Regions from separate parts of the Homo sapiens genome. Here regions 1, 3, 4, 5, 6 and 7 are each linked to region 2. The links are contacts of gene promoters, found by promoter capture Hi-C in blood cells and fetal thymus (Javierre and others, 2016). All regions are on one chromosome and are shown on one strand. Each heading gives the region's core, a stretch centred on a gene start or on the middle of the fragment in contact. The rest is flanking DNA. Distances are from core to core; before and after follow the strand shown.

Region 1 (3,804 bases), core at 651-3,150, 720 kb after region 2:
AAGGTGGTGAAAAAAATCAGGGTAAAAGAGTAACTCCCAGGATTTTGGCTTAACCAAGCCAATTGTTGATGGTGTCATTTATTGAGATGGTAACATCTCAGAGAGGAGTAGATTGGGGGATTCAGTTTTGAATGGTTATGTTTATGATGTTAATGAGTAAAACTAGGCAGTTGAATTATAGAGATCTGGAATTCAGAGATATATTTTTGGTGGGTTTTAGAACATAGGTGAGATTTCAAGCCAAGAGCATGAATAAAATCACTTAGAGAGAACATATGGAGAAAACAGAAGAGAAGAAGAGAGGAGAGAAAGGAATAGGATCAGAGAAGAGAGGGAAAAAGGGGAGATAAAGGGAAGGGGAAGAAAATATTAAAGAAGAGAAGAGAGAAGAGGAAAAGAGAGGTAACAGAAGAGATAGAAGAGGAGTGGAGAGGAATGGAGCACTTAGGGCCAAATTCTGAAGAATGCCGACATTTAAAGACAGAAAGAGGTGGAAAAGAGACATATGAGGAAGCCAGGAAAGGAAAGTGGGGAAGGAGGGTGAGGCCAACCATGTTTACTGAGGCTGAGAGTTTCAGTAAGGGACAAAAAATGTGTATTTTGGCTTTTCCTAAATGGAGGTCAACGACCTTGACTAGAGCAATTTCAATTAGATGGAGGGTAGCAGCTAGAGTGTAACAGGCTTGAAGAGTAAATGGAATGAGAAAAAGTGGAGAGAGCATGTGTAGATAAGGGTTTCTAGAAGCTGGCCTGTATGGGAAAGAAGCAGTAAGAGAGAAAAGGCCTCTCTTACCTAGGACAGCACTGGCCTCTGCAGCTGGGCTGAAGTGGGAATTGTAGGTGCTACACCTGGGTACAGAGGTACACACATGAAGATGTGCTGCCCAGATCTTCCTCCAGAGAAGCACTTGCTGTGCAGCTGTGGGGAATGTAGTCAGCAGACAACCTTTAGCTGTCAGCTCCTTCAGAGTCTGCCTCAACTGCAGAGAGCTGCCTTGTCCGAGATCATAGCCTTTCCACTGCCTCCTGTATCTGGTGACCTGGATATTGAAAGAGCTGGCCTCTTCAGCCCAATGCTGGGCACTCTGCCCAAGGAAACTTGCTCCAAAGCTTTCTGCCAGGTTGGCTGAGGCTTTGTTGGGCCTCATCTTCCGCTACCCAATTCTGTTGATCCCCCTTCCCTTCAGAGATGTTGGTCCCTAATATAACATCTTGTACCCCCAAATCAAAATTCAACTCACAAGAGAAGTCCAGCTACCCAAAAATAGCATAGAAGAGATGTGACATCACCATTGCTTATGTACAAAATGCTTTGGGATGTTTCTTAACACTGAAGGGGTTAGGTGGTTGTGCCCACCAGAAAGGCCAAAGTTTTTGGGATACCAAGGGAGAACCAGAAATAAGGAAGAGCCAAGTCTTCTTTGCTCCATAATGGTCAGACCAGCTGCACCCAAAACATCATGTTCAGTTTGGAAGCCATGTTTGAAGAGACCCGTAAACATCATCAAATGCTGAGTCCTGAACAGAGAAACTAGGACTACAAAAGGACTGCAGTTCTTTTCTCATTTTTTTCCTCAGCTACCAGTCTCTCCATGTTTTCTACTTTTTGAGAACAACACAGCTGTTATGCACTGAGCTCTTGCACTGTGCACGGTGATGATGAAATGTTTGTCTGCATAACACATACAGAAGTTCCATAAGAGAGGCGCTGTTAACCCCATTGCCCCTCCTACACAAACAGGCCTGAGACAAGCCAGAGAACTTCATCAAGGTCATACAACTAGCAAGTGGCAGAGCAGGGATTTGAACGCAAGCCCTTCTGACTCCAAAGTTGTACTCCATACTCCTGCCTTTTCTCATTATATAAGTTGAGTATCCCTTATCCAAAATACTTGGAATCAGCAATGTTATGGATTTCATATTTTGGAATATATGCATATACATAATGAGATATCTTGGGGATGAGACCCAAGTCTAAACACAAAATTCATTTATGTTTCATATACACCTTATATACATATTCCAAGGTTAATTTTATATGATATTTTAAATAATTTTGTGTATGAAATAAAGTTTGCATACATTGAGCCATTAGAAAGCACAGGTGTCACTATCTCAGTCACCCATGTGGACAAACCAAACATGGTTGTTTGGCATCATCATCATTCCTGACTCTAACTGTGGATGCTACCAATAAGCAATCATTTTCCTATACTTATTTACACATAAGTACTTAAACAGTAAAAAAAGATACATTATTAATACAATGAAAAAATAATGTGTCTGGGTAAATAAGCAGCACAGGAGCATCACCAGAATACCTGTATCAGCTGTCAGACAACAGCAGCAACAAACAACAGGCTTTCAGCTACAATGCTGTGTTTTGATTAAAAGGTCATTGAACGCTGTATTTTTTTTTTTTTAGGTGAGGAGAAACATCCAAAGCAGTGGGGGACCAGGAGGTGGGTCCCTTAGGATGAGGAGGCATTCTGAATAAACTGTGTGTTGTGCACCTGCATTTTGGCTATGACCTGTCACATGAGGTCAGGTGTAGAATTTTTCACTTTTGGCATCATGTCAGTGTTCTGAAAGTTTTGGATTTTGGAGCATTTCAGACTTTGGATTTTGAGGTTAGTGGTGCTCAACCTATACTAAGCAGATGGCTACAGTAAGGCTGTTCTGAAGCTTGGGGATGTCTTCACCTCTTAAGAGGAAGAATCCTAATGGGTGAGGGTAAACCACCCAAGGAGCCGATGTGGGTGTGTAGCCCAGAAACACAGAGCTGAACAGGCTCAGGAAGCCCCCAGGTCCACTGAAGGTGCTGAAACAGTGTCACTGGGACTGGGATGAAACTATAGCTGGGTGCTAACTAACTAAGGGGCAACCTTTACAGTTGAAGATGTGTCAACAGGAGAATGGCCTGCCAGGGTCCAGGAAAAGGGACTTGGCAAAGCGAGAACTTAGGTCTATCCCCAGTACTGCCCATATAGGTTGTGTGAGAGCAAACCTGCAGCTGGAGCCACAGGTAACAGGGCCCTGTGCAGTTATAACCAGGAACCTCTGTTTTAAAAATCACCCATTTCCTTTTCTTCCTTCCCTTCCCTCTTACCCCTTCATTCCTTCCCTCTCTAGACAATCCCCTCACCAGTGCATGCTTATCTAATTATGCTCTTACCTAAGAAATCCCAGAGGCTAATATTGAAACAATCCAGGTGCCCCACTCCTCCCACTTAGGGGGAGTTGTGAACAATTGAGCCAAAATCAAGCTAATACCAACCAGACCTCCTGATGAGCAATTAACCAAGAGAGCCAACGGAACAAGACACACAAGTCCAGTACCCTGTACCACTCCCACATGTCCCCTATACCACATATCCCTTTAAAAACTCTATGGTAAGTTATAAAATGTAAGATGATACTTTAGAATGCTAGCTTGCCATCTTCTGGGTTTGCTGGCTCTGCTTTTCCTCCCAGAACCCCTTGCCTCTGGCTTTGCAGCAGCAAGCAGCTGAACCTGGGTCCGGTTACACAGCCGTGTCCTTGGGGTGCAGAAGAGGCACCAGGCTCCTGATACCAGCCCCAGCTCTGATTCAGTGCTCTTGGTGCTGTAGTTCAACTTGTCTACACTGTCCTATGCATAGAGCCAGGCTGGTGAGCCTTCAGGAATGTCCTGGGATCCTCGGCAGTCCCGTTTTTCCTGGTAAAGAAGGACTGCACATCACTGTGCAAAGGGCCTCTGCCATATCTCATCCTCCCTCCCCTCCTAAGTGAGAAAACCTGGCTGAAGAGCAGAAGCTTGCTCTC
Region 2 (3,847 bases), core at 1,196-3,695:
AATAGTAATTATATTTCATAGGGTTGAGAGAATTAAATGAACTAATTCATGTAAAGTGATTAACAACAATGCTAGGCACATAGTGAGTACGTGTTCAGTGCTCTCCATGAAGTCTTGCCTGATGTGTATAGGACAGTAGAAAATACTATCATGCCCTTACCAGCATCATCTTCCCAGTCATCTCTGCTCTGCTAGTGCCTCCTTTCCAACACTCACTACTCTTGTCTATTTAGGGACTAAGTCATTTCAATTCTGTTATCTTCTTCCCCTGCTATTCCTCCTTTCGCCTTTATAATTTTTCCCTTCGTTACCTCTTATCTAGACAAATAGGCAAAACCCCAGGTCCACAGGGCCCAAGAAGGTTCAAGTGATAAGAGTCCTGAGAGCTTGAGTCAGCATTAAACACCTCCTAAATCCAACACTACTAGGCTGTTCAGGCTAAATAAAACTCCGTAGTCTTGTGCTTTTGCCTGCATTTATTTGATACTAAGGACGGTAACACTGATGTTCTTAGAATCATCAGAAGCTCAAATTGGCAGTTTTATATGTCTTTAATGGAAAGAAATAAAACTAATTACCACAAATGTAGTTTGATTAGTTCAAAAATTCAAAACAAGGGGCCGTTGGGAGTGTAGGATAGGGGTTAGGAATCACTGTCCTAATCCCTCTTCTCTTCTTCAATCCACACCAGCTGTCAGATTAATCTTCCAGTAACACCAGCATTTCTGGTCTTGTCTTTGTCCTGTTTAGAAAATGCCAGTAGGCTAAAGAACCAGCTCCCTGGGGTCTGGGTCTCTATTGAAATCTTCGTGCCTGCACTATACTTGCCCAGCTGAACAAACTGTTTGCTGTTCCTCCTATCTACCTTTCACTGTCTGTCTGCTTGCCTTTGTTCCTGTGGTTCTCTCACTTCAATCTCTTCGGTCTGATCAACTTTTAAAGCTCACTTTATCCATTCCAGCAGGTATAGCTTAAAAACAAAAACAAACAAAAACCAAAAAACCTCTCATTTTAAAAACCAGGGGATTTCCTGATACCCCAGCCGAAAATAATTTCTTAAACCTCAGAATTCCCCCAAACAGTGGCTTTTCATTAAAAACCTTACATCAGAGTTATTAAGCAGGGTGGTTTTGGCTCCTCTCCTAGACTGTCTGCCATCTGGGGGCAATGGCAGCTTGGAAAATTTCTTTGCACAGATAACTACACTACGTAAAAGTTTGCTGCCTTTGCAAACTTTGAAACGCCTACAGGAAGAAATGGGATAAAAACGACTTTGGCCGGGCGCGGTGGCTCAAGCCTGTAATCCCAGCACTTTGGGAGGCCGAGGTGGGCGGATCACCTGAGGTCAGGAGTTCGAGACCAGCCTGGCCAACATGGCCAAACCCCGTCTCTACTAAAAATACAAAATTAGCCGGGCGTGGTGGCGGGAGCCTGTAGTCCCAGCTACTCGGGAGGCTGAGGCAGGAGAATGGCGTGAACCTGGGAGGTGGAGCTTGCAGTGAGCCGAGATAGCGCCACTGCAGTCCGGCCTGGGCGACAAGAGCGAGACTCCGTCTCAAAAACAACAACAACAACAACAACAACAACAACAACAACAACAACAAAAGACTTTAACAGAGAATGATCAGTATTTTTAAGATTCAAGTTTTTAATAAACTTGGGAATGTTATGCTTTGAAGCATAACAGATAATTATCATTATTTTTAAGATTCAAGTTTTAGATAAACTTGGGAATGTTATGCTTTGAAGTTTTCAGAGCTCGTAGCTAAAGCGAATAGCTCAAATGTTCTCCAGCCTAAGGCTTAATGTGAATTTAGATTATTACTGAAACATTGGGAGGGGGTATTACTCTTGAAATCTTATACCTCCATCCACAGATAAGAACACTCAGTGCAAAGAATTAAAGCTGCCTAAGTCAAATTCTTTTTTAAATGGCAAAGTTGTTTTTTTAAGAGACAGAAAGTGAGGGCAGAATGTACCTCTGGGCAGAGAATATCTTGAGGGACAGGTACTCGGAGAAGAGGAGATACAAATAGGGATTTTTAAAAAAGCAGAAAACCACCAATTTCTCCTCAAGTGAAGGGGGGATGTATCAGGTTTAACTTTAAGCTCTCTTCTGCTCAATTGCTAACTCTATTTTGAGGAAAGGACCTTTGGAGACCCGGCAGATATGCTGTCTGCAAACAATCCGGGGGAGTAAGTTCTTCTGCCCCCGTCTGTCCCTACACTTTTCGCATTCACACCTTCCCCAGATCCGTTTCCCAGCGTATCTGCCTTCCCTCTTTCCTCCGGGTCCGTCAACGTCTCACCCACCCGCGAGTCAGGCCCCAGCGCCCCTCCGCCCGAACGCCCAGGTCGTCGGGCCGTCTGCGTCCGTCTGTCCTAGCCCGTGCCGTCGCGGGCCGCGCTCACCCAGGCCTCCGCTCTTGTCCGTGCAGCCGCTCCGCCCGGCAGCCGCCGCCGCGCTTTATATCCGCGGCCGCCCGGCTCGGGCCCACGTGCCGCCACGCCAGGGAGCCTGGGGGTTGTAGTTCTGCGCCGCCGCCCGCGAGGCGCGCCCGGAACCGCTGGCCCGGAAACCCCGAAACGTTTTGCACACTGGAGTCTGCTCTTCCCCGGGTGTCACCTGAACAACATGGGCTGAAGTGACTCCGGCGCAGCGCCCCGGCTCCCCGAGGATCGGAAGCATCCGAACTGGCGGCCGGGTGCCCGAGAGCACGCGGCTCACCCGCGCCACGCCGAGTGCAAACCTCCCCCTGCCTCGTCTGCACGCCAGTCCTTCCCGCGTGCGGGCACCTCCTGGGCTCCGCTGCGTCTTAATTTTCCTTCTCTTGCGCAGGGCTCTGCAATCCCCACTATCTCGTGGTTCTGCGTTGTGAGGTTTGGGCTGCTGTTTCCGAGGCGTACGGAGAATCCCAACTGCCCATCGGCGTTCAGGTCTCTTCGGGTTGACGCCGCTGCACCAGCCCTGCAGACTCTCGTGTTAAAGAGAGATGAGCGAATTTTAAAGTGAATTATCTACTCATACGGGAGCTTTCCTGGCTTCTTTTGGAGAACATTTGAAAGAGTTTTGAAAGGGAAAATTATTTTTAACCCAACCGCCTCTACTTTCAGGAGTATCAGGAGTCTTATTCTAGGATCATGTACTGTGTGAATAAATCAGGAACAGAGCCAGAGACAAGTCCTCAGTTTTCTCTTGCTGATGTGATTCCACCTCAATTTTCCATAAAAGGCGATGGCTGATGCTTATTATTACATTTAGAGAAACTAAATTGTTCAAAGGGCTTTCTAGTTTGCAAAGTGCTTTTAAATGTATTCTAATAGTTCTTTCGTTGCACAGAGCACCAGAGATAATAGCTAATAAGTACTGTGTTCAGTGCTTACTCAGCCTGCACCGTTCTAGCTGTTTTAACATTTAATTCATAAAATAATCCCATTGGTGGGTCCTGTTTTATAAATGTATATATTACAGATGAGCAAGGATCATTCCATTTTACAGATCAGAAACAGGTTTAAAGAGTTGAAGTAATTTGCCAAAAGCCATAGAGCTGGTTAAGCTGTGGTTTGATTTCAAGTAGTCCAGAAGCTTGTGCTTTTAACACTATGTTATCCTACAGGAAAAAAAAATACAAAAAGAAAAGAAAAAGAAAAACCCTTAGTTACATGAAGCAAGTTCTCCTAAGGCTGCAGCATGGTTTTTGTTTTGGTTTGGTTTTTGTAATATTAACAAGAATATTATATCCTAATGGTACAATGAAAGTTTTTTTTTTTTTTGGAAAGTCACAGTTTAATAAGTGCAAAATTAAGTATGTCAGTACCCAAAAGGTATAGGTCATTAGGCTTAACA
Region 3 (4,027 bases), core at 45-2,544, 640 kb after region 2:
ACCCGATAAGTAGCCGTGTGTTCAAAAATGTCTTTTGCCCTTCCCTGAGCCAGTCTTCCTTCAAAATGTTAACAATACCACTGTTTCTTTCATTCCAAGAAGCTTGATCTTCACACCTGACATTTCAGAGATCCTGTGTCTTACAATTGATGTGTATGTTTAACAGAGAAACATTTTTCTTCTCCTTTCCCCCTAAAAGCTGTTATTAACTCGCTGCTGTGTCTTAGTCAATGGCTTCTTAGAGTCTAGAAAATACAGTAAGAGTGATGTACGAGAATACGTGGTTTTGAATGTGGTGCTTAAGATACATCTTTGACTTAACAATTGCCTTAAAATCCTACCTTAACAAAAATTTAGCTCTTACTTTCAATTTTGATTTGCTTTTGATTAGACACAAGTAAGGAGTGAAGCCAGACACAAACCCAGCTCTTCTCATTTGAAGTTCAGAATTCTTTCCCCTGCATTCCATAATTTCTCCATATTTATCTCAGAGGACTATGCAGAATATGACAGTGGGTTACCATGGAATATCTGGGCAAGGAGCTCTAAGAGTAAAACTCCAGGCCAAAGACAAAACAAGTATTCAAATCCCAAGGCATCTCTGTGAGATGACAGATGCTCTTGTCTGCTCTTCAGATCCGAGGGGTTTCCGGAGGGCCAGCAACCATGCCCCCAACACGTAGATGGCTTAGCTTGCCTAAGAAGGGCGGGCATTGTAGAAATCTGGACAGTTCTGCTGACCTTCCTCTTTCTGTCTCCCCACTCTTGATTTTTTATGTTAGTCCCCATGGCACACCCTCTTTGTGAAGTCTCTCCAAATGGAAGCACAAGCTCTCCCGAAGGATCCCACACCCCACAGAGTGATCTCTAGGGTTGCCCATAGCAACAGCTGGTACCATGGAAAAAAGCCTTCCTTTCATCCGTCAGAGCTGGGCAGTAGGACCCTCTCCCAGGACCCCAGGAACAAGGTCTTTTTCTAGCTCTGCTATGGAAACTTGGGTGACACACATCACCTCTTGGAGCCTCAGTTTCCTCATTTACCAAATGAGGCTGATGTGAAGTCATTTTAGAGTCCCACTGAGGACCACTACTGTGATTTTCCTTCACCAACATGAGATACATGTGGCTGGTTTCAGGCTCTTTCCTGAAGCAGATCTTAGTACTGGGGAGGATGGACGGTGATGTCGCCACTGAGAGTGATGAGAGAGAGCAGACCCACCACCAGCTGCCCTCCTGATCCTTGGAAGGCCAGTCTCACATCTCAACATTCCCAGCCACCTTGTTACCAACGCTTGTGGAAAATTTGATTTGGACAGAAGGGACTCCAGCCCCTTTTAAGTATACATATGCACATGCTTTAATTATTAACTGCTTAATGTTGTCATTGAAAATATTTATTTTAATACTACTCTAAAAGAGTGAACATTTTTCACGTATTGACCCACAGCTGATTTCTTATCTGCTGTTACCAAGAACAAGAAAGGAGAGAATAAAGCTGAGGAAGGTGGCAGGCTCGATAAATGTTAGATTGAACTGTTCTTTTTCAGTGCATGCCCTGCCCTTATCACTGATATTGCCATTTTCTACTTTCTTTTTTTTTTTTTTAAAGTGTATTTTGAAGGCAAATAAGAAAAGAGAGCTATGGTGTAGTCTGGAAAACCAGGGTGTTTACCGTTTAGAGGAACCAGAAGTTCATAAGGGCCTGGCTGGACTAAGAAATGACAGCTCAGCACAGGGAAGGGGGGAAAAAAACCAACAGCAGCAGCAGCAGCAATGCAAGAACAAAACATTTTAAGAGATCTGGCCAGAACTGGTCTGTACAAATCCCCAGCTTGGCCTTCCTCCTCCACTCCCCCTGGCTCCCAGGCCTGTTTCCCGGAGTAGTAGCAGCCTTGCCTCCCCTTAAGAAACCTGCCCACAACTCACACTCCCTACATGCCAGTCATGCACACTCGTGTGTGTCACACCCTCTGCTCATCCCCCCACCCACTGAAGTCAGACCATGTGTGAGGGAGGATGAGAAGCCGGGGAAGAGGAAGACAGCTCAGCTGGCTGGCCCTGGCCCCTGAAGAAAACAAGCAGAGGCAGGGAGGGAAACATACTGTTCCCTGCAATCTGATCACCTCCGTGCAAGCCTCTGGGCTACACACCCAGGCCCAGGCCCAGAGGCCACGCTAATGAGACCAGGCAGGAAAAGTGAGCTGGTGACTGTTCCTGGGCAGATTAGAAACACATTGTGGAGAAGTGGGGGCACGGTGAGGGTGTGCAGGGCAGTGTGGTTGAGGCTGGGTGTGGGGCTGGGGCATGCGGGCCCAGAAAGGAGCAGAAGAAGGACTGCTGTCTTTCTGAGCTCTGATTCCAGCTCCTGGGGTGGCCCCCTGGCAGCTGCTGAGGCCTCACAGTGAGAAATCTGGAACAACAAAGGCTCTGGGACAAAAGACTCTCTGGCCAGAGGGGCTGCTGCTTTACAGGGGCCAAAAGCTTCACTTCTGAGGGGCACGTGGGTCCACCAGTGTGGGAGGCTGCAGGCTGAGAGGCAAATGGGGTTTATTGAGGAAAGGGAACAGATGTTTATTGGGCATTTGCTGGGTGCCCCCATTAAGCTAGGCTCTTTTTATGTATTTCACTGTGTTTGAGATCACTGTGAAATCCTCACTGCATCGGAAAATGGGAAGCAAATAGCTTTTTTCTTTTTATTAGGTCAGTGACACCTAGAGTTCGCCCAATATCACATCAGTGCCATTTGTTTGAAAAGTTAACCAGAGGCCAGCTGGGATTTTTGTCACTAGGAAAACAATGTAGCATGCGCTTCTTTAGCTTCCAGTCCAGGCAAGGACCTTCGGGGGTGTGAGGATGGAAGTATGTCTTCATGCTTTCTCCTGTGAGCCGCCAACCCACAGAACTGCTGGACCCTCAGCCCTTCAAATCCATCCTCCGGGAAGGTGCCTCTCAAACCTGCAGGGCCACCGCTGAAGTTCTCCCACGGACTCTACTCTAGCGCCCTCTGGTGGCCACCACTGCCAAGCCTGGTTGACTTGACTGGGAATTTCTGGTTAATAGCAGCTACGTTAATATCACTTAGCCCAGCTTTGTGAAGGTTCACTTGTGCTTTTACTTCACCTCTGATTTCTGCGTTATCATTACTCTTTCCATGTTTCCACAGCCTTTGTCAGTTCTCTGCTGCTTCATCTACGTTATTTTCATGGGGACCTGTGTTATTTTCATGGGAACCCCAAAATCAGGGAGATGTTTTCTTACCAAGATCTTTGTTTTGTACTATATTGCCAGTGGACCAACTTCGTTTTATTGGAATTTTTTTTTTTATTTTCTGGAGGATCTTTCTCCCTTCCTCCCCTTAGGAATTCAGGACACATTTCTGAAAGACTGGTTTTACTATGTGAGAAGCACAATGTTGTATACTATTTGAATTTGAGCTTCCCTTGTCCAGGGACGGAGTGTGGGCATGCCACCTCTGTTCAGTTATGGGGTGAGTTTCTTGGCCGCCTGGGACCCCTGCCTCCCGCCCAAGAATGCAGGTGAGAGCGTTTGCCCCTGGTTTTGACCAGGATGCCCAGTCCTGGTGTCTGAATTCCACCCATGAAGCCTGACCAAGCACAGTGGGAAAATCAGCCTATGGCCAATGGACATGGAGGCCAAGTTTGAGGGAGAGGGAGTTTGCCCAGAGTGGCAGCTGCAGATATGATCTGAAGGGTAAATGCTCACTGCAAAACAGGAGGGGAGCCAAGGTCAGAACCAGAGAGGCAGGGTCAGGCAAAGGGCATAGAGAAGAGCAAGAAGCTAGAGAGAGGAGAGGAGGCACACACACAGTTGGGACCAAAGAGGCCAGGTGAGATCTGGGAGGGGATGGTGAAGAAGCACAAGGCAAGGATGCCAGGGCTCTCATCAGGGGCCTGCTGTGTGTGGCATGGGTCTAAGTGGGTAAACCACAAGTCTGCAGATCTGACCTAGTTCACAGAGCCAAATGTACTCTCCAGATGTCAGGTTACTGTTTCTCCAGGGAGGCCCG
Region 4 (4,226 bases), core at 348-2,847, 850 kb before region 2:
CCTTCTGCATGCTTAGCTTTTTGTCATATGGAAGGAAGATACAAAAGAAAAACTGTTTCTGCCCTTCAGAATCTTTCCATCTCTTCTAGGAAGGAGATAAAACACCATATATCATTAAGAAATTTATAAGACTAGTCCCAAAACCAATGGTACAAGCAACATGCATTTTACATTTATGTAGAATTTTAGAGCTTGGAAACACTTTCGTGATATATAATCCTAAGAACAATCTTGTAAAGTGCACATTATTAGCTCCATTTCAGTGATGAGGAATCTGAGACAGAATTTTAAGTGACATGTCTCGTTCAAACATTATGAGTGGAAGAGTCAACACTTAAGCCTGAGTTTTCTGATTCTAAGCCTAGTGCTCTTTTCAACACAGCACTGGAAACCAAAGATTGTGGTACACAACAGGGCAACAGCCAGTCTTCTGCTCGAGGTCCAACTAAACTGGACCCATACCGAGCAGTGTCCAGCCAAATGTCCAAATTAATTTTATCCTGCAAATATTTGTTCTTCAGTGTAATACACACAGCACAACTACCATTTCCTTCGTCTTAGTGCCTTTATCTCCTACATTCCAGAAATGGGGATGTCAAATATTTTTTTAAATCTGGCCTAGATGGAATCATATAAATCTCAAATCATAATATAAATCTTAAAGGTCTGGTTTCCACCAATCCTTCCACATTTTGTTTTCCCCCAGCACTAGAGAGCCTAACCTACCCTCACCCCTTTCGAGCATTCTTGCTCCAAACGACCACCTATTTTAAGATGTCAATGACCCTTTCCCAAATTCTACAAATTCACCCCAGTTTTGCCACCCGACCCCAGCGCCTGCCCGGACACGTTCCCCTCCCTCCCAATAGATTTGATACCGAGTTCAGGTTCTGCAGATCCCGTTGCGATGCTGTCACACAGCACTGACAGATAAGATTTGACCTTTCGACTCCGTCCTTGGGGACTTCCCGCTGGCCAAGAAGGGTAGTTCCAATCCCAGGAAACGGGCTTCCTGCTCAGGAACGCAGCCTCTAGCAGCGCACAGTCTGAGGCAATGTCTCCGGCAATTAGAACGATGCTGGGCGCCCGGGTGTGCATCACTCTGCCTCATACTCCTACCAACTGCAGGGCACTCGGTCCGGCAGCCAGTCCATCCCACCCACAGCCAAGTCCCAGCCAGCCGGACCTTACGCAGGACCCCGATGATAGGTCGTTGACGGCTGCAGCAAAAGCCAAGGCCACCTGCCGCTGCTGCCCATCCCCGCCAATCTGAGACCCCCTAGACTGGACCGCAGAAAAGCGTTTCTATGGGAACCCCCCCACCGAGAATCACGTGACGCAATCGGACGACCAATCGCTTCTTACCTCTGCCCGCGGTCCAGCTTTTGGCCCTCCCTCTCGCCCCCGCCTCCTTCGCCCAGCCCCGCCCCTTGCCTGCGGAGAGCCCGCGCCTGCGCGCTGTGTCCTGCGCGCTCCTTCCCTCGCGCGCGCTCTCCGTGGAAGAGCAGGGGCAGCGTGGGAGGCGCCAAGGGAGCGCGAACCTGAGGAGGAAGAAACGGGGCTAGCGCGCAGGCCCAGAACGGTCCGAGCCGCGGCAGTCGGCGACGCCTCAGAGCGGAAGAGGGAAGTGAATCAGGCGCCGGGTAGTGGGTTGCTGGGCTGGGCTTGCTGAGGTAGAGGCAGCGCCAAGAAGAGGCCTTTGCCGCTGGTCGGGATTGGGATGTCGAAGAACACAGTGTCGTCGGCCCGCTTCCGGAAGGTGGACGTGGATGAATATGACGAGAACAAGTTCGTGGACGAAGAAGATGGGGGCGACGGCCAGGCCGGGCCCGACGAGGGCGAGGTGGACTCCTGCCTGCGGCAATATCCTTGCATTCACCGCCCTCCCCACCCCAGCCCAGCCCAGCCCGCCCTTCTCCTGGGACCCGGGAGCCTGCAGGATCCGCGGGGCACCGGCGCGGAGCTGCCCTCTCAACCTGCGGCTTAACCTGTCTCTTTGGGATCGCCCGCTCTGAGAGGGCAAGGGGGAAGCCCCCGTTTCCTACCCAGTCGGCAGGAGACGCGAGGGTCCCACTCTTGGAAGCCTGCCCTCCCCCGCGCGCCTTCCACGCCCCCAGATTCCTCAGGTTGCACCCGAGTGCCTGCCTGCCTCGGGAACTGGTCCCGCCGGCCGCGCCCTCGCGGCGCTGGGGAAGGCGGCCCCGGCTGGTGGGGAAGGCTGGTGCCGAGCGCCTTAGTTTTTCTTCCTAGAACTCTGATTTCCTGGGGTCACATTAGCTCCAGAAATTTCTGATTGTGGGGAACCTGCATCTTTCCTTAGTGGTTTTGTTTTTTGTTGTGTTTTTGTTATTGGTAGCGTTAAGGTAGTTTATTCCTTACCGGGGGGCGGGGGGAGATGGGACTGTTCGAAAATTGAGGGTCCCTGTGCTTTCAGCCCATTGGCCTTTTTAAAAAAAAAAAAAAAAGAAGAAGAAGAAGGGGATTTGGCAAAATATACATTGTACAGAATTTGTTAACTGGGGGAGGGGAATGAATACAAAAAATACAAAACTCCTAGAAGGAAGCTTGGAGCCTTTTACCTGCTAAGAAAAGGACAATAGAAAAAACAACGGGGAATGCGTGTGGAGAATCCTTGGAAATATTTAAAATAAACCCCAATGAATAAGATAGAAGATGAGTCATTCGTATAAAGCAGAATCATTTTTGTAATCCTAAAATTGTTTCCATTTTAGTTAAAATATGGCAGTCAGTTCCCGGTTTCTGTTTTTGCATATTTGAATATTCATAACTTTGGCTTCGCATTTGCATTACATCTTTTTTAGAAAAATGTAAATGTTGCAAAAAAACCGAAGCTGTAGTTTTAGAAAATCTCAGACACTGAATTTGTATGCATTTCTAATTCTTGGGTGTATTCATAAGGAAGACTCTCAACAATGTCCTGTTATAGTGGGGAAATATGAGAGTGAAAATATTTAATGGCAACAATATCCTTTTTTAAAGGCACCTAAATAGAGCATTAGACATTTATCAATATATAGATAGTGCTTTGCCACAACTTTCACAATTAATTAGCTGTTGCTCTTTTGCATTATTTAAATACTTAAGTGCTTGGAGTTATAAAAAATGAGCTAATCTACATCAGGCATGCTTCTCTAGAAATCCCTGCAGCCTTGAAAATAACAGCTTGTCAACCAGAGATTTTGTGTAAGAACTTTTTCTTTAGAAAATAAATGGTGAACATGCTTCCTAAAAACATTATTTGTGATGGATAGATGGTGTTTTATGAAACCCCAGTGTATTTTAGGTAATTTGTGGTGACTTTTAAATGGTACTGCTGTATCCATATCAGTGGATCTGCTTTTTGATCAGTTCATCTTAAAATATAAAGATACTGTCTCTTCTTACCGTTACATACAGCCAGGAAAGACAGCCCTAGTGGTGGGGTACTAGAGTTGGAGGAACAAGTGAACTCTGTGGTTTTCCTTTTAGGGGAATGTTTGTACATTCTGACAGTCTGATTGGCCTTCTGTTTCTCATGCTTGCTAACTCACTAGTGCTTTCAAAGAGAGCCTGAATTTAATAGGTATGGTCTAACACAGTTTGAATAACCTTTGTGAAATATGAGAGAAAATATCTAAAGCAAAAAATTAAGCTGCCACCTAAGGGACATATGAATTATTACATCTTCTGTGATGCCTCTTTTCATCAATATTGAGAGATTGCTAATGTGTATCATTCAGATTGCTAATCTGCCAGCATGTTCTACCAGCATTTCAGATAATACAGAATATGGTTCTAGCAAAAGTTTGGTCTTTATTTTTTCAATTAGAATCACAGGAAAAGACATATTTTGGTTGATAATAGGTTATTTCATTTGGGGGACTAATAATTCTGATATATATTTTAGGATTTCTTTAACACCACTCTAGGTAATGTTTGCATATGTATCTCACTGGGAAATGAAAGACTATCAAGGTGTTCACTTGATAGTTAGAACCAAGGGTGAAACAGTCTTTGCTTTATTAAAAAAAAGTCTAATGTTCTATTTTGCTTTTGATATTTTGCCTTTGATTAACATCCTGGAAACCAACACATTGAATTTCCAGTATTGAACATAGTGACCAAAGTAATTTTCTTTTTATATGTAAATCAAGTCATAAGAACCAGTGGTTATAATGCTTTCCTGGGGGCCATCCTTTGCTGTTACACCCTTAACTTCCATCACA
Region 5 (3,752 bases), core at 752-3,251, 700 kb after region 2:
CTTATAAAGCATGTACTAAGTGCCAATCCCTGTTCTGAGTGCTTCACACAAATTAACTCAGTGAATCCATAAACAAACTCTGTGAGGTGGATGGCATTCTAATCCCATTTTACGGGTGAGGAAATTGAGGTCTATGGAGGTGAAATATCTTGTCTGGGATGCCATAAGTAGCCTGAGGTGGAGTTCTGGCCCCTGAGTCCATGCGTTAGGACCCCAAAGAGCAGGGCTGATTAACACTCACCAACAGAAGGCAGGAAAAGGCTTGCTTCAAGCCTGACACACAGTGAATGCTAATTGCACCTTGCCTCTCCTCTTCCAGCCGGTTGCCATGCTGGGATTCTGTAGGGCAACTAGCACCGTTCCAGGTTTCAAAGAAGGAGGTGGCCTTTGTGTGGTGTCAAAACACTGAATTAGAAATCAAAAGACCTGTGTCTCCGTTACCTTTGTGGTCTTGGGCAAGTCACTTAAGCAATCTGACTTCTAATTTCTGCATCTATAAAAGGAACATATGCCCCTTATAGGTAATAGGGAAAGCCTATTACCACTGTCAGCCCTTGGTAGCACTTAAATGAGTTGGTTGAGTATGGATCTGACCCAGGATTCAATTCTAGGTGGATGAGATATTGTGGGACAGGTAGGGGCCTCTCAAGTGGGAGGGACTGTAGTGCATTAGTGTTTATTTTGAGCATTGATGCCCACAGAACTCATTGCACTTGGGCCATCACCTGCTCCAGTCCTCAAGAACAAAAATCTTACCGTCCCTGAGCAGCCTAGAGCAAGGTCATACAGATGACGTGCGGGACAAAGCCTCACTTGGGCAGAGGTGGCTCTTGCCCGCTCAACTGTGAGATGCAGGACAAGCCCTGAATCCCACAGGGTTTACCTCGAATGCATGCCCTGGGTTAGTGAGTAGTCATCGCTGCATGAGGAGTCCCTGCCCACAGCTGCTTCCACCGTCTGATCATTCCCCAGAGACCACATTCAAACCCCAAAATTGGAGCTGACAAGTTCTTATTTTTCTTTATTTTGTAATTGCTGTTACTTCTGGGGCTTGCAATGAGAGGAAGGATTGGATAATAGGCTTCTGGCCTGGAGAGATGAGATGGGAATCTAGTTAGTCTTTTGGCCTCCACATGAGGTTTTCATGGATTTCATATTCACACCTCATTTGGGGTCTGAGACTGTGGGTGATTTTGTCCCCATTCCTGCCCACATCTGTCCAATGGGCTGTTACAGTTCTTGGGGTCCCCACTCTCTGGACATGGTCATGCTCAGCAGGCCCCTACTCCCTGACTCCTTGAGCCAAGAAGGCCATTCATGTGGTTTCTCTGTGCTGCAGGGCACTGTGTATGTACAGGGAGCACAGGCCTTAAAGGAGGGGCTGTGTCTTTGTTGAGGGTGAATGTGTGATGGATGCATGAGGTTTCAGTCATGTCAGCCAGTGCCCATTTAAGCAAACACCCAGGACTAGATGGAGCAGGAAACCATGAGCCTCTGTGGCTGACTTGGGAGATACCTTCTTTCTTTACAAGTCTGTTCTGGAGTCAGTGGTGCTCCTGCCACTTCAGCTGGGCTCAGGACACCGAGTGCAAGATGCAGTTTCAGGATCTGGAATCCACAGCGCTAGTGGGCTGCTCAGGGGAGGCTGGGAGAGGTGTTTCTCTCGCAGATGCCCTGGATGGCATGGGTTCTGCTAGGTGGCTTGGTGAAGGAAAGGGCAGGATCCGTCTCACACATTCCAGGCACTGTGGGGGTCAAATATGAAGAGCAAGCTTACTTTTTCCCTCTGATATTTCTCTTGCCTTCTATAAAACAGAATGTATATTCCCTTCCTGCCACTCATCAGAGCATCTTACAAATATTGACTCTGTGTGCTAAAGGCCTACCAGGGCTGCAAGGGCCCAGGGAAGCTCAGCCGAGCTCTAGGGCAGATGTTAAGGAAAGGGAGGAAGAGGACCTCTCTCAGGGCTCCTGTCACAGAGATGCTAGGGAAGCGGCCATCAAGAACTGCCAGAACAGCTTCCTTACAGCCAACGATGCTAGCCATGGCACCCAGACCCAGGTTATGGAGCCCACTGGCTCTGCGGATTCCAGATCCTGAAACCGCATCTTGTATTCGGTGTCCTGAGCCCAGGTGAAGCAGCAGGAGCACCACCGACTCCGGAACAGACTTGTAAACACACTTCATCTAATGGATGGGCCCAGCTCTGTGCTAGAATTCAAAGCTTAAATGAGACTCGGGCTTGCTATTGAGGAGGCACAAGTCAAGGGGAGGAAACAGGCCCCCAAGCAGAGATAAAGATATACACGGTGCTTCACCCAACCCACAGGCAGGAGCACCCTGTGCTTCTCTGCAAGGTCAGCAACTCAGGGGATGCGACCTCTGCCACAGCTCCACAGGGTCACTTCCCTTACTTTCGGAGGAGCACCCATTGGGCACTCAAATCAACACCCTGGGTTTAGCAGCCACTCTGTGATCCCAGCAGCACGGGGTGCTGCTGGAAACCTAAACATTTATTCTTTCACTCAAAACGCTGAGCGCCTACCAGGCGGCACACATTGCACTGAATGTCAGAGCCAGAGATCCTAAGGCTCTGAGGTGGGGAGGACAGAGCTGGAGGCAGATTACACACCTTAAAATGTGGGTGCAGAGGTGGGCAGGGAACACCACTGGGATGTGCCCATGAGGATGAGCCAAGACGGAAGAGCTGCGACTTGTTTACCAAAAGGCATTGACGACTCGATGCTCCGTCTTCCGTGGGAATTCACCCAGCTTTGTTCAGATGTTACTACCTCTGCCCTTCCCAGTTCCTACCCCATGAAAGGGCATCTGAAGGTGCTGACATCAGAAATGGCAAGTCAGGACACACGCAAGTTCCACAGGGCTTCCTGCTGCCCCGCCCAGCCTCTTTGCAGCCGCCTCCTGCAGCCCCAGGCACAGGCCTGACTTTGGTACAGTTGAAGTAATGCCCCAGTTTTGCCCTGGGCTGGGACTGCCACCTGGGGCAATAAGGGTGGTTGTTTTCCCCTGTGGTTGCCCTCCTGGTTACCTTAGTGACTCATGGAGGCAGTGGGCCAGCCTGGGACAGAGGAGCAGGGGTCTGGTCCAGGGCCAGCCTGGGGCTCTGATCCGCGGCTGCCCCAGATGTCCAGATCTGACCAGGAGCTATGAGGGAGGAGCCTGCTCCCATATAGCCATAACTTTTCTGTTCTGAGCTCATCAGTGTGGCCTGATAAAGTCTACAGAGAGGCCCTCAAGGAGGAAGAAAGAAAAGGCAGGGAAATATACTTTTTTTAGCTAGAGCTCCATCAGCGAGTACAGAAAGAGAACATTCTCCTAGGAGAAAGCAAGGCATACTCTGTCCTCAAGGTGCCATTTTCCCCAAGCAATAGAGGCAAGGCCAGATGAGCTGTGGAGGGGTGGAAGATGAGCTTGTGGCTCCCCACCCTGTCCCTTGCATGCACACCCACCCTCAGGGGCTGCAGCTGGGGTGGCTGAGAGGGGAATCCCTGGTTCAGGCTTTCCTTGTCTTACACAAACTGAGAAGGAAGCCTTGAGAATGCTGGTAGTGCATGCAGGGTGGAGCTGAGAGGGCGGAGAATGAGGTTTTTCACCCACCCTGTGGGCCCTCCTGTTTCCTCCACCCTCCCTGTAATCTCAAAACATCCTGACTTCACTGAGCAAAGGCCCCAAGCTTTTCATGGAAGAGCAGCAGCTTGCAATAGCCCCAGAGTCTGAAGATAACATCTCC
Region 6 (4,056 bases), core at 913-3,412, 670 kb after region 2:
GAAAGGGTGAACAGGAAACCCTTTGCTATTTGGTGAGATCGACCCAGGAGTGAGGCATTAGACTGGAATCTCTGGACCCTCATCTTTTTTTTTTTTTTTTTTTTGACAGAGTCTTGTTCAGTCACCCAGGCTGCAGTGCAGTGGCACGATCTCCGCTCACTGCAACCTCCTCCTCCCAGGTTGAAGCGATTCTTCTGCCTCAGCCCACCGAGTAGCTGGGATTACAGGCGCATGCCACCACATCGGCTATTTTTTTGTATTTTTAGAAGAGGCAAGGTTTCACCCTGTTGGCCAGGCTGGTCTCGAACTCCTGACCTTGTGATCCCCCTGCCTCAGCCTCCCAAAGTGCTGGGATTACAGGCATCAGCCAACACACCCAGCCCTGGCCCTCATCTCTTTTCCCATTAATGCTGGAGGGGGCGCCTCACAAACCAAGACACCTGCTAGTCGTTGGACTCACTCTTGATGACCAAGGTGCCGTATCTAGTAATTGATACAGTTATCTTTTCCTGGGAATATGAATAGCAGGTTCTTAGTCCTTGCACAGGCATTTTAAAAATGCACAAACCAAAGAAAAAAATTGCTTTTTCCAGATCCCAATCCCTAGCAGGACTAGTCAATAGGTCCCTGTATCCAGATAAGAGAAGGGATTTATGGGAGCATCCCATAAGCACATGGCAGGGAAAGAGAACAAATTCTAAATGTCCTGAGAACTGTTTTTTACCAAGCATTGCATTGTCACCATGCTGTAAAAGTAATAAACTTCCCTCCCATTGTCTGAATCTAAATAGGGGAACCAACCTCCAAGTCCAACCCCCTTCCTCAGGGAAACTGCTTCTCACTGTGCTTCAACATGACCTTTGGCTGGGAACTAAAATGTGAGTCTGAATTTGGTAAAGCTTGGATCCTTTCATTTTTCCCAACTCTCCCAGTCCAGAGGGATAAAAATCCCTGCTCCTAAAACCCAGTGGTCTCTGTGAATGAGCTCATCCAACTCCTGCTGGCTTTCTGGATAATAATGAAACTCACGTTGACCAGTCTTTCTACATTGTTTTATATATATATAGTTATATATATAGTTATATATATAGTTATATATATAGTTATATATATAGTTATATATATAGTTATAGTTATATATAGTTATATATATGACTTTATATATAATATAAAGCTATATATTTTTTAAATTTATGAAGATAATACTGATGTTGTTGGGACAGAAGCCTGAGAATTGAGCCTTTTTGCGTCCCCTTTCTCTCTCTGTCTCCTCCTCAGACCCTCAGATTTCCACCTGGAGAAAGGGGATGAGAGTAGAATGAAGTTGAATCATCTTGACTAAGGGAGGTGGTTTCTTCATCAGACATGCCCTCTTAACCTGGGTGGTAGTTGGAAGCTGAGGCAGGCAGGTAATAGGTAATAGCAGCCTAGTTAAAGCATGGAGACTGCATCAATGCCACCCTCAACCCCTCAACAAATGGGGCACAACTAGAACAGGATGTTTAGGACCAGAGAACGCTTTCACATGCCTGAGAACAAACAGAGTAACTGGTCAGCCTATCCGCTGATTTGTGAGATCAGCCCCTTGGAAGCCTTTTCTTCCATCCCAGGCATTATGACTTCAATTCAACAACTCTTAAGAGATGCACAGAGGAGCTTGAATCAGGAACATGGGGTTCAATGGTTACAATTCCCAAAGATGTCGAAAACAAAGTTTAAAAAGTATGTGACCATTTTGTCAATTATGTTTTCTCTATAAAATAAAAAAAAAAAGAAGCTTCGGGTATCACTGACATGTATCTTAAGATTTAGAGTTACACAAACACTCTAGTATATAATTTTTGAGCTTCCGCACTAACGTTAAGCATTAATAATTACTGATCAGTTTAATCTAGGCCATAATGTTATATACAGTAAATGAATTGTTTCTGGAAGTTTCTAAGAACAATTCTGAAATATGGATGTGGCTGTGGAGAATGAGGGTTTTTCTTTTCAATAAAAAATAAACGTTTTTTCTTTTTGCTCCTCCCCTGACTTTATTTTTTACAACAGTTTTAGATTTACAGAAAAATTGCAAGGATAGTACAGAGCTCCATGCACCTCTCCTTCAATTTTTCCTGTTGATAACATCTCACAGGAGTATGGTACATTTGTTATGATTAACAAATATTGATACATGATTGTTAATTAAAGCCATACATTAGAGAATGGGGATTTTACAGAAGGTTGGCATTAAAACTTCCCTGAAGTATCTAAACTCAGGCCTTTCACATGGCGGAGAGAAGCCTTTGCTGCCTTTGGATCTTCCCATTGCCATTCCAGACTGCCTGCTGCTTTCCCGAGTTCTTTCTGCAAGGGGCAAAATGTTTTCTGGTCAAAAAACTTGGTTGTCCATCATGCAGCAACAGCCACATGTCTTTCTTTTAAGTTGTTCTCAAAAACAATTTATAATAGCAGTGGAGTGAATTGGCTAAGAGTGGTGATTTTGGAATCAAATAGATTAAAATCCAGTTCTGTCACGTATAAGCTGTTATTTTATCAAGCTTTATTTTTCTCATCTGTAAGGGGAAATGATCATAGTGTCTTCCTCATTAATTTGCTATGCGTATTGAATGAAAATGTTTCAGAAGCACCCAGCATCATGCCAGGCATATAATACTAGTTCAATACTGGTACCTATTGTTAAGCTTAACAGGTGAGCTTTTTTTGAGAAGCAACTATGGTCAACAAGCTAGTCAATGAGTAATCTAGATCAATTTGATGAAAAATAATTTTTCCAACAAAGATCAGCTTCAAAGAGCAGTGGGGAGAAGAGACATCGTTGTGGAAGCATAAAATTAATTGCCTGAAGAATTCTCTTCAATTGGAAAGAACAAGGCAAGTATAGGGACTACTTATGTGAAAACATGTGAGGAATCCCAGCCTGGGCAACATGGTAAGACCCCATCTCCACAAAAAATACAAAAATTAGCTGGGTGTGGTGGTGCATGCCTGTAGTCCCAGCTACTCAGGAGGCTGAGGTAGGAGGATTGCTTGAGTTCAGGAGGTCAAGGCTGCAGTGAGCCGTGATGGTGCCACTGCACTCCAGCCTGGGTGACAGAGTTAGACCTTGTCTCACAATAAACAAACAACACATGCGAGGAGGTACCCACAGGCTTTTTCTTCTTTACCATTCTGCTTGAAAGATTAAGGCATCAGTAAATGTTTAGAGCAGCAGATATCTCTATTAGAGGCATTGTTGAGGGACAGATGATGTCCCAGAGGGAATTAGGAGCGTTATGGAGACCTGGCTCCTGCCTTCCTATTCTCCCCCTCCTCCCTCACCACCTCTTCCAATTCTGCAGCTCTGTGGATCTACTGCAACACATCAGACAGGCAGGCTCTCTGGGCTGGCCAAGTCCTTTCTTGCTGTACTCCTTCTGCCTGGGTGCACCACCACACCTGCACCTGGCTATTCATCAAGACTCAGCTTGGCTATCTCTTCCTCTGGAAAGCCTTCTCTGGTCACCACCACCCTGGTTAGCACATGCTCCCATAGGTTTCCAGTCTCCATTCTTAGGCTCTAACCCACTGCATCACCTCTCTGCCTCACTCTGTTGGGAGTACCATAGGTACACAAGTCTAGCATGGTACCCGGGATGTGGTGAGAGCTCAGAAAATATTGCCTCGTGCCTATTCTCTGAGCATCTCCAAGCCCAAGGGCTTTTGATTCTTCCCTCAAATGCTGAAGTGGAAACAGTTAGGGGAGGCACGTAGATGTAGCGAACGTTGCCTAGCTACACCTGATGCATAAAGGAGAAAACTTTAAAGGTGTCTCTATAAATAATATAACTAAAGCCAGTATAGGATTAAACAGTAACAGATAAATTATTTCATGCAGTGGTTTCCAAGCCCCAATGCAGGAAATGATGTTGGTCTGTTGTGAAGTTTTCCCAGGTTAATGGGGATTCTCCTCAAAAAATGGCCACTGGTCTCATGAGGGTATTCAGTGCTGTGGGCAGGGACTCTTGGCTAAGAATGGCCCCAGAGAGGGGGTCGCCCTGGTGTCCACTTCCT
Region 7 (4,024 bases), core at 1,376-3,875, 610 kb after region 2:
GCCTGAACAACACAGAAGAGTTCTCTCTCAAAAAAAAATACTAAAAAAGAAAAAAAGATTCTCAATCACATCTACAAAGTCCCTTTTGCCATGTAAGGTGACATATTTACAGGTTTTGGGGATTACAACATGGACATCCTTTGGGAGCTATTATTTTGCCTACTGCAAATATCAACTGTTGGTGAGAATGTTGTGATGGTTAATTTTATGGGTTAACTTGACTGGGCTAAGGGATGCCAAGATAGCTGGTATAACTTTTTCTGGTATGTCTGTGAGGATATTTCCAGAAGAGATTAACACTTGAATTGGTAGAAAGAAGAAAAACACCCTTCAATGTGGGCAGGCATTGTTTCATCCATTGAGGACTCAAATAGAGCAAAAGAAATAAATAAGGGCAAATTCACACTCTCTGTTTAAACTGGGACACCCATCTTCACCTATCTTTGGACAAGAGTAGTACTCCTGACTCACTACTGGCTTTCTTGGTTCTCCAGCTTGCAGACAACTTCTTGCCCTCTGTAATTGTGTGAGCCAATTCCCATAATAAATTATATACATACATAGAATCTCCCATTGGTTCTGTTTCTTTGGAGAACTTTGATTAATACAGATGTAGAATACCTGGAACTCACACTGCTGGTGGGAACATAAAATGATACAGCTATTTTTAAAAGCTATTTGCCAATTTCTTAAAAGTTTCTTACCTAACCACCCAGCAATTTCACTGCTAGGTATTTACCCAAGAGAAAGGAACACATATATCCACACAAAGACTTGCACACACATGCAACTTTATCATGTCCACAACCTGAAAAACAACTAAAATGTCCATCTACAGGTGAACAGATTTTAAAAAGCTATAAGATACAATATTATATTATACTCTAATAAAAATGAACAAACAATGGGTATATGCAACAACGTGAGTGAGCAAAACACCACCAAACACAGAAGAGAGAGTACATATTGTGTGATTCCATCATATAAAATTCTAGAATAAGCAAAATTAACATGTAATAACAGAATCACTCGGGACCCAAGTGGACTGTAGACAGGAAAGAAGAAATTCTTGGGGTGATGAAAATGTGCTAAATCTTGATTGCAGTAGTAGTTACATGAGTGTATTCATTTGTCAAAACTAATTGAACTCCATCCAACAAAGGAGTGCATTTTGTTGTATATTAATTATACCTCAATAAAGTTCAATATTTTTCTGTTCTGAGAAGGATATTAACTGCCCCCTCTGATGAGGCTAAATAACTTCCAGGAATTTCTTCCTGTCTAGCAAGAAGTTCTTCAGGGGCCAGTAGGCTCCATTTCCTCTTACTTTGCTCTCAATTGAGGTTAAAAAAAAAAACTCTATGGAATTTGGATCTCAAAGAGATATCTGCACTCCCATATTTCTTGCAGCATTATCTACAATAGCTAAGGTGCGTAAGCAACTTAAGTGCCCATCAACAGATGAATGGATAAAGAACATGTAGTATATATACACAATGGAATACTATTCAGCCTTGAAAAATGAAATCCTGTCATTTGCAACAACATGTATGAACCTGGGGGATGTTATGCTAAGTGAAGTAACAGGCACAGAAAGACTAATATCACATAATTTCACTCATATGTGGACTCTCAAAAATTTGAACTCACAGGCGGGACATGGTGGCTCATGCCTGTAATCCCAGCACTTTGGGAGGCCAAGGCAGGTGGATCACTTGAGGTCAGGAGGTCGAGACCAGCCTGGCCAACATGGTGAAACCCCCATCTCTACTAAAAATACAAAAAATTAGCTAGACGTGGTGGTGCATGCCTGTAATCCCAGCTACTCAGGAGGCTGAGGCAGGGGAATCGCTTGAATCTGGGAAGCAGAGGTTGCAGTGAGCTGGGATCGCACCGAGACTGCATCTCAAAAAAAAAACTTTTTTTTTGAACTCATAGAAGAAGAGAATAGAATGGTGGTTACCAGGGGCTGGGAGGTTGGGGGCAGGAATGGGGAACTCTTGGCCAAATGGTACAAAGTTTCAGTTAGACAGGATGAATAACATCTGGAGATCTCTTTTACAGTATGATAACTATAATTAATAATAACGTATTGACTACTTGAAAATTGCTAACAGTAGATTTCAAGTGTTCTTACCACAAAAATTGATAAATGTGTGAGATGATTGCTATGTTAATTATTTAATTTCAATATGTATACTTATATCAAAACATCATAATGTACACTGCAAGTATATATAGTTTTGTCAAGTATACCTTCATAAAACTAGGGGGAGTGGAGAATGGCTCCTCAACAATCTTCAAGTGCTGTAAGGCACTTAGCCAGGACCTAAGTCCCCTGAAAACCATTCCTCCAGGAGGCTTCCTCCAACTGTAATTTGCCCCTGTGAATATGCCCATTCTCCCTATTGTGAAGAGCCCTAAGTTGCTCACAATTGGAGAAATGACTGAGCCAAAACAAAGGGATGAGCTGCAATGTGATCACAAATTTGGAAGGAATCCTGATGGACTGTCTCATTCTGATTTGTTCTGCTTTCTCCAAGCTGGGTCTGTTTTACTCAAGCAATTGAAAAATGTCCATGAAATGCCACATGCTATGCCTTGAATTAATTACAACAGCTCTCATTTATTCAGACCTTATTCTGTCCCAGGGGCCGGGCCAAGTACTTTATGTGCATCGTATATAAATTAATCTTCCTAGCAACCTCATGAGACAGATACTATTACCACCTTCATTTTATGGATAATGGATTAAAAGTCAAAGTGGTTAAGTGACTTCCTCTTTGTCAGTGGAGAACCATCCAGGGTTTTACAACTGCAGAGCCCATTAAACCATTGTCGTATACTGTTGATCCTTGTTCTCACAGATTTCAACATGTTGGGAGGATGACATAGAAACCTGAAACTAAGCATACAGGGAAGTGGGCTCTAGCCTATTTGAAAAGGCTCTGGAGGGCTGGGCGTGGTGACTCACATCTGTAATCCCAGCACTTTGGGAAGCCAAGGTGGGAGGATTGCTTGAGCCCAGGAGTTTGAGACCAGCCTGGGCAACATGGTGAGGCCCTGTCTCTATTAAAAATTAAAAAATTAGCCCAGCATGATAGTGCATGCCTGTAATCCCAGCTACTAGGGAGGCTGAGGCGAGAGGATCACTTGAGTCTGGAAGGTCCAGTCTGCAGTGAGCCTTGATCACACCACTGTACTCCAGCCTAGGTGACAGTGAGAACTTGTCTCAAAAAGAAAAAAAAAGGATAAGGCCAGGCACAGTGGCTCATGCCTGTAATCCCAGCACTTTGGGAGGCCAAGGCTGGCGGATCATGAGGTCAAGAGATCGAGACCATCCTGGCCAACATGGTGAAACTCCATCTCTACTAAAAATACAAAAATTAGCTGGGCGTGGTGTGTGCCTGTAATCCCAGATACTCAGGAGGCTGAGGCAGGAGAATTGCTTGAACCCGGGAGGCAGAGTTTGCAGTGAGCCGAGATTGCCCTACTGCCTGGCCACAGAGTGAGACTCCGTCAAAAAAAAAAAAAAAAAAAAGAAGAAAAGGCTCTGGAAAAACCCTTTTCTACTCTCCCCTCTCTAACCTGTGCTTTTTCCACACAAGCATCCTGGGCTTTTGTAATTAGCAGAATGCTTCCAGACTGATGAGCTGTATGCCTCATCAAATTCCTGATTCCTGATATACAGAAGAGAGACATGAAGGAGATGCTTTTTAAAGAGTGTTTGCAGAAAGCAAGAACATGGCATTCATTCACTTAATCATTCTGGAGCTATTACTAAGCCAAGTCATTGTGTTGGTGCTGAAGATATATTAAACAGACTTGGATCCTATTCTCAAAATGTCATGTTCTAATAATTATCACGTCCTATCACACCTTCCCTGTTGTTGGCCAAATTTCACCTCCCAATCTGAACTGTCATCGTAGCCTGACACAGCCAGCCCTGGCTCTGGGATGACTCTCTGAGTACTGCTTCCCTGATGGGAGTAGGATGGCTGAGGTGTGGCGTTCCTGTGGATTG

Evidence for each region. Contacts are between HindIII fragments. The CHiCAGO score rates a contact against its expected background, and 5 or more counts as called.
Region 1: a contact is called between a fragment that was not itself captured here and the fragment with the promoter of NPL in region 2, in 3 of 17 cell types (megakaryocytes, M0 macrophages and fetal thymus). The highest score is 5.9, in megakaryocytes.
Region 3: a contact is called between a fragment that was not itself captured here and the fragment with the promoter of NPL in region 2, in 5 of 17 cell types (M1 macrophages, M0 macrophages, M2 macrophages and 2 more). The highest score is 19.3, in M1 macrophages.
Region 4: a contact is called between the fragment with the promoter of ARPC5 here and the fragment with the promoter of NPL in region 2, in 3 of 17 cell types (neutrophils, naive CD8 T cells and fetal thymus). The highest score is 5.5, in neutrophils.
Region 5: a fragment that was not itself captured here is called in contact with the fragment with the promoter of NPL in region 2 in 11 of 17 cell types (M2 macrophages, erythroblasts, megakaryocytes and 8 more); the score reaches 12.2 in M2 macrophages.
Region 6: a fragment that was not itself captured here is called in contact with the fragment with the promoter of NPL in region 2 in 2 of 17 cell types (M2 macrophages and M0 macrophages); the score reaches 7.0 in M2 macrophages.
Region 7: a contact is called between a fragment that was not itself captured here and the fragment with the promoter of NPL in region 2, in 5 of 17 cell types (M1 macrophages, M2 macrophages, M0 macrophages and 2 more). The highest score is 9.1, in M1 macrophages.

Annotation. Positions count from the first base shown.
Region 1 is chr1:182,069,985-182,073,788 of GRCh38, reverse strand. No RefSeq gene overlaps it. Among named protein-coding and RNA genes, the nearest start is that of ZNF648, 10 kb to the right of the region's middle. The HindIII fragment of the contact is 1,575 bases long and covers 1,113-2,687 here.
Region 2 is chr1:182,788,371-182,792,217 of GRCh38, reverse strand. It overlaps NPL (N-acetylneuraminate pyruvate lyase), which reads right to left and starts at 2,445. Exons shown (of 13, transcript NM_030769.3): 1 at 2,413-2,445. RefSeq lists an enhancer at 2,292-2,792. The HindIII fragment of the contact is 6,627 bases long and covers 1-3,588 here.
Region 3 is chr1:182,142,329-182,146,355 of GRCh38, reverse strand. No RefSeq gene overlaps it. Among named protein-coding and RNA genes, the nearest start is that of ZNF648, 83 kb to the right of the region's middle. RefSeq lists enhancers at 1,461-2,128, 2,129-2,797 and a silencer at 2,806-2,982. The HindIII fragment of the contact is 2,379 bases long and covers 105-2,483 here.
Region 4 is chr1:183,633,154-183,637,379 of GRCh38, reverse strand. ARPC5 (actin related protein 2/3 complex subunit 5) reads left to right here and starts at 1,597. Exons shown (of 4, transcript NM_005717.4): 1 at 1,597-1,863; 2 at 4,226. The coding sequence starts at 1,721. It also overlaps a transcript of RGL1 not described here. RefSeq lists silencers at 1,314-1,473, 1,954-2,003, 2,084-2,143, 2,095-2,313 and enhancers at 1,624-1,903, 1,901-2,401. The HindIII fragment of the contact is 3,712 bases long and covers 1-2,566 here.
Region 5 is chr1:182,087,358-182,091,109 of GRCh38, reverse strand. No RefSeq gene overlaps it. Among named protein-coding and RNA genes, the nearest start is that of ZNF648, 28 kb to the right of the region's middle. The HindIII fragment of the contact is 453 bases long and covers 1,775-2,227 here.
Region 6 is chr1:182,115,804-182,119,859 of GRCh38, reverse strand. It overlaps LOC105371642 (a long non-coding RNA gene), which reads right to left. Exons shown (of 3, transcript XR_922341.3): 3 at 1,212-2,349. Among named protein-coding and RNA genes, the nearest start is that of ZNF648, 56 kb to the right of the region's middle. The HindIII fragment of the contact is 766 bases long and covers 1,780-2,545 here.
Region 7 is chr1:182,174,379-182,178,402 of GRCh38, reverse strand. No RefSeq gene overlaps it. Among named protein-coding and RNA genes, the nearest start is that of ZNF648, 110 kb to the right of the region's middle. The HindIII fragment of the contact is 6,123 bases long and covers 1-4,024 here.